Regions from separate parts of the Homo sapiens genome. Here region 2 is linked to region 1. Evidence: promoter capture Hi-C in 16 types of primary human blood cells and fetal thymus (Javierre and others, 2016). All regions are on one chromosome and are shown on one strand. Each heading gives the region's core, a stretch centred on a gene start or on the middle of the fragment in contact. The rest is flanking DNA. Distances are from core to core; before and after follow the strand shown. Region 1 holds the start of ATP11A (ATPase phospholipid transporting 11A). Region 2 overlaps ARHGEF7 (Rho guanine nucleotide exchange factor 7).

Region 1 (2,700 bases), core at 1-2,500:
CAGCAGGTTGTCCCTGTGGGTGAAGATCCACTGAGGGGGACCGCCAGCTTCCTGAGCACAGGGCAGGCCAGAGCAGGACAGGCTGGGATGGAAAATGAAGAATCAGTGCTTTAGCCGACAACAAATGGGAGCCGTTTACTGTTTAGTCACTATGATTAGTGTTCACTAGTACTCATTTCTCTTCGTCTAAAAAGTGGCCAACACCATCTCTTTTCCACAAGCACTCGGGAGAACATTCATATTCAATTGCCTTCCTAAGACCCAGACGGGGCAGCGCTCTCCACAGGCCACCAAAAGGTGTTGCCTGTTTGGTTTCATCAGTGATTATCTGTGGCAGCAAGACAGGAAGTTGGAAATCAAGTACCTCAATTAAGTCAAGGCTGACCGTGGAATTAGAGAACAAGTGTTTGTTACCCCGGCCAGGTCACCCTAGGGAAAACAGGCATTCTCCGGGATTGAAATGGTGGTGTTTGTGTGGTAAATAGTTCTCAGTCCAGTTCAAAGCCAGCAGCATTAAGGACACGCCACCGCCACCGGGAGCTGGAGACCAGGCGAAGCTGAGCTCCTCTGTGGTTCACCAACCCCTCAGGCCGCCTAAGTGTCTTCTGCTGTCGCAGCTTTGGGGACAGAGGGGTTTCGGAAACAGGGGCCTCTTGTCTGCACCCTCCCCTCCCACTGACAGGCTGGCAGCCCAGGGCAGCCACCTGAGGAGCGTCCCTGTGTCTCTCCATCTGCAGAGCAGGAAAAGCCTGCGGGTCGGTGGCGCCACGCTGGGGCGAGACCCAGCTTCGGCTCAGGAGATCTCCCACCCAGCCGGACTCCCGCTCTCTGCCCGCGGCCCCCTCCCACACTCCCACCTCGCCCCGCGATCTCACTGCCCCATCGAGGCTTCCGGGCGGAGGAGAAAAGTTTTCCGGCAGGAACCCGGGAAGGAAGCCCTGGGACCCTGGCTGAAACTCCGGGTTTCCCCAGTGCCGAGTCCCTTCCCCGCCGCGCCCAGCGCCTGCGCCCCGGGAGGCGGAAGCAACAGGGGGGTTCCTCCCCGCGGCCTCTGACCTCTGCCCTCTGCCCTCTGCCCCCAGGGTCTGGGGCCCGGGCGGAGGCGCGAGGGGGCAGGGCCGGCGCGCGGGTGCGAGCGCGGGTGTGGGCGCGGGGCCGGCGGGGGCTGCGGCCGCGGGGCGCATGCTCACTTGCGCCGGTGACGTGCGCGCCCGGAGCAGGGGCAGGAGCCAGCGGGGCCCGGAGGCTCCAGAGGGCGGCGGGCAGGGGAGGAGGAGACTCGGGAGGAGCAGAGCGCAGGCTCCGCCGCGGCCGGGGTGCTCCAGCCGAGCCCAACCGAGCGGGCGGACCGACGGGGAGAGAGAAGGCGCCAGAGCGCGCGCGCGCGGCCCCGAGCAGCAGCCTTGCCGCCAGTGGAGCAGCTGCCGACGCGCGGGGCCGCGGACCCAGCATTCGCCGGCCGGGCCGGGCATGAGCGCGGAGGGGCCGCGGCCGCCCCCTGCACCGCCCGGCGCGCCGAGGCCGTGACCGGAGCGGGGGGCGCGGCCGCACTAGTACCCCGGAGCCCATGGGCGCGCCGAGCCGGGCGCGGGGGCGCTGAACGGCGGAGCGGGAGCGGCCGGAGGAGCCATGGACTGCAGCCTCGTGCGGACGCTCGTGCACAGATACGTGAGTGCTCCCGGCGCGGGCTGGGGGACCCGGGGACCAGACAGACGCGGGCCGGCCCCGCAGCCCGGACCCTGTGGCCGGTCCAGCCCCGGGGTCCCGGGAGGTCTCCGATGTCTGGGACTCGGACCGCCCCCGGGGACGAGCGGGATGCTGGGGAGGGGCCTCGGAGTTGACACCCTGGGGCTTCCGACGGGGTCTAGGTGGGCACAGCGCGGGGCCCCAGCCCCGGGCGGCCACCTGCTCCCTGGCCGCGGCCGCCTGGCGCCCCCTTCCCGCCCGCAGCGCCCTGGGGGTCCCTCGGAGAGGCTGGCTGGGGTTCGAGCTGTCCCGGCGGACCGGGCGCCCGGAGGGAGCCAACTTCGACCCCGCCGGGGCCCGGGTCTGGGGAGGAACCTTCAGATGCGGCTTCCGCGCAGCCGTGTCTGTAAGATTAAGGGATTGGGAGGAAGCGTTACACTTCTGCAGAAAAAGGTAGCAATTGTGTTTGTTCTTTAACACCCCTGGGGGATTCAGAAGCGGAGTTTGGAATCTTTTTATTTTTTACCTTAAAGTAACCAATTAGATCAGAAGTCCGGGGTCTTCTTGGGTTCCTCTGGAATTTGCCCCTTCAGTGATAAGCAAGTGAAGAGCTCAGGAGGGAAGACTCGGAAGGGGAAAAGTTGATTTTGTTTTACACCAGAGGAGGGGAAACCGGAATCCCTGGCGTTAGGTGTAAAAAGGGGTGTGTGGCCGGGCGCGGTGGCTCACGCCTGTAATCCCAGCACTTTTGGAGGCCGAGGCGGGCGGATCACGAGGTCAGGAGTTTGAGACCAGCCGGACCGACATGGTGAAACCCCGTCTCTGCTAAAAAATACGAAAATTAGCCGGGCGTGGTGGTAGGCGCCTGGGATCCCAGCTACTCAGGAGGCTGAGGCAGGAGAATCGCTTGAACCCGGGAGGCGGTGGTTGCAATGAGCCGAGATCGAGCCACTGCACTCCAACCTGGGTGACAGAGCGAGACTCTGTATCAAAAAAAAAAAAAAAAAAGGGTGT
Region 2 (2,700 bases), core at 92-2,591, 1.4 Mb before region 1:
CAGCTGAAATCATTTTCTAATTTTAGCATAAAGCATACTTCCTTTGACTTTTTCAAGAAAGGAGAAACAAAACCAGACACTGCTTTGACGTTGTTGCTAGAAGGGATGTCTTACATAATTTTATCCATCTATACATTATTTCCTATGAAAAGATGACCTTACAGTGGCTTCATAGCATGACCTGCATCTCACACAATTCCCTCCCCCATGCAGGGACTAGAATGTGATCGTTGCAGGAAGTTGATGGCTTCTATTCTTGAAATTGTGGCATTAGCTGCCGTCCCTCTCAGCCTGTGTTTTGAAGGTCGCGCACTTCCTCAGAATGCCGGCCCCACTCCGTTTCCAGTTCACAGCGCCACACAGCTTGTTCTCCCATTAAATGCACCTTACTATTGTTGGCTAATTTGAGGTCATTATTGGCTGATTTTGAGAATGACTTATTTAACTTTTCTCATTTAACTGTCATTGTGATGGAATATTTTGGGTTTTCCAGGAATATAAAATGCATTAATGGCACACCGCTCTAAGAAGTTAATTTTTGATTAACTTTGTTTTGATTAAAGTTGAGTTTTCTAAGAACATAATTGGTTTTAATACCAGGGTTTGGCAGTGTTCAGTAAAGATCCAGATGGTAAACGTTCTCTGCTTTACAGGTTCAGGCCTCTTGCAGCTGTACTCTGCCCTTGGAACACAACAGCAGTTTTAGACAGGCACAGGCCTGCCTGTGTGCCAGGAAAACTTTTTTAAAAAACAAAACTAGGCGATCAGGCCTTAGTTTCGCCCAGTACTTTATCACCAGGTGAAGAATAATACGTGGCTGGGGGGGAATCACCTTCCTTCTTACAGCCACATGCCCTGTGTGCTTTTGTGAAATTCTCATCTTTTTACTAGATGAAGTACCTTTTTTCTATAAATGTTACTCCGTAGCTAATAAATGTGGCTAGTGGATGTCTTTTGAGTGCTGGGGCCCCAGCTAGAGCTGCCCCTCCTGTCTGGGGCAGACGCCGTGAGGAGCCCCACGCTCGGCCCAGGTGGCGCGAGCTAGTGTTTGGCCCCAAAAACTGACTGCTGAGAGCCAGAGATACGAATGAAATGATAAATCCTGAGGTTTATTTCACATGGAGTGTTTAAAGAGCAGAAGGAAGTGCGTGATAAGTGCCCTTTCGCGGTGAGCACGCGAGTCTCATGTTCTCTGCCCTTCCCGCTCTGTGCCCTTGGCAGCTCCCCTCCCACCCGGTCACTCCGTCCAGCAAGCACGCAGACAGCAAGCCCGCGCCGCTGACGCCCGCCTACCACACGCTGCCCCACCCCTCCCACCACGGCACCCCGCACACCACCATCAACTGGGGACCCCTGGAGCCTCCGAAAACACCCAAGCCCTGGAGCCTGAGCTGCCTGCGGCCCGCGCCTCCCCTCCGGCCCTCAGCTGCTCTCTGCTACAAGGAGGTGAGGTCCCTTGACCACTCAAACAGCCAGATGACGGTGAGCATGCCTCGGGCCCTGGGTGTGCCCACGTGCTGGGCCTTCTGTGTACAGCAAAATGCACCCTAACTCCTAGAGAACTGAGAAGGGGGGGTCTGCCTTGGTTCTCTGGTTATCTGCTCTGCTGCTGAGAGGCCCGTGGTAACCTGTGTGGGAAGGCGATGTGCAGGGTCCCCCTCCTTTCTGCCATGCACAGGGGGGCCTTTACTGCACTTGCCGGAGGAGTGTGCCGCCAGGGGCCAGGAGCTGGAAAGGCGCTGAGCCCAGGTGGCTTTCACTCCCTGTGTGTGAGGCCATCGCTCAGCATCTGCACGCTGTCTGCTGCGTCTAACGACCCCTCCTCTAGGTTGGGGATCCTGTCCAGGAGCCCTGCATTTTGTCATCCAGAAGCCATTTGAGATGAAGAGAACATTTACTAATACAAATGAAAAACAATCACTTAGGCGGTTTCCCCCTTTGATGCATAAGAAATCATGATGCGGTCTTTGCTTGTCTCTGTTCTCATCCGGCATTTTTATATTTGCTAGGCGCAAATAAAGTACGATTCCAATGAATAAATAGAAGTGTTAACACTTCCTTACACTTTTACCTAAACCAGCTTGGATGAGGAAAGGAAGTGTCTTTAGAAATCTGTTCTGAGAAGTACTTTCACCTGAGGAAGCTGATAATTGAGATGAGAGTTGTTTTCATAAGCAGTTGAGCGTGCATGGTGGTGAGGTATGAGGAGTGGCGGTGAGAGTGTGGGTATCGTGCGCGTCAGTGTGAGCAGCAGTGCCCGTTGGTGGGGTGTGAGTGAGCGTGAGGATGGTGACACGCTCTTGCCTGGCATTGTGCCTCTGTGTCTGGTCAAGGCCACATTTGCCAAGGGAACTGGAGCAGACTTTTTCTACATTCTTGCCGGCAGCCCTGGGGGTTTTAAGGCCCACAGGAAAGTACTGTATGAGAAATTAGGATCTGTGCTTTTCATTTTTTGTTCTGAGTCTTTGTTTTTATGATATCTTTCAGGTAATCATGTGTGCAAGTCAGAATTTCCATTTTCTATCATGGGAAGTTACTTGAAGAATGTTGCTGTTCCTTATTGTATACTTTAGTGTGCACAGTCTAAAGAAAAAGTGAGCTACTACAAGAACTGGTGGAGACTGAATTACTAGGGAAGAAAATTGGGATAAAACTGTTGGGCAAAGAAGTAGAAAGGGCAACGGAAGGGGTATTGAAGTG

What was found. The method cuts DNA at HindIII sites, captures the fragments that hold promoters and counts their contacts. A CHiCAGO score of 5 or more calls a contact.
Region 2: a fragment that was not itself captured here is called in contact with the fragment with the promoter of ATP11A in region 1 in 1 of 17 cell types (M2 macrophages); the score reaches 5.6 in M2 macrophages.

The regions. Positions count from the first base shown.
Region 1 is chr13:112,688,788-112,691,487 of GRCh38, forward strand. It overlaps ATP11A (ATPase phospholipid transporting 11A), which reads left to right and starts at 1,251. Exons shown (of 30, transcript NM_015205.3): 1 at 1,251-1,668. The coding sequence starts at 1,630. LOC102725228 (a long non-coding RNA gene) reads right to left here and starts at 1,028. Exons shown (of 2, transcript NR_187633.1): 1 at 876-1,028; 2 at 1-82. RefSeq lists an enhancer at 88-605 and silencers at 854-1,783, 1,804-2,043. The HindIII fragment of the contact is 3,702 bases long and covers 1-2,700 here.
Region 2 is chr13:111,281,918-111,284,617 of GRCh38, forward strand. ARHGEF7 (Rho guanine nucleotide exchange factor 7) reads left to right here. Exons shown (of 22, transcript NM_001354046.2): 16 at 1,222-1,446. Among named protein-coding and RNA genes, the nearest start is that of TEX29, 37 kb to the right of the region's middle. The HindIII fragment of the contact is 4,043 bases long and covers 1-2,700 here.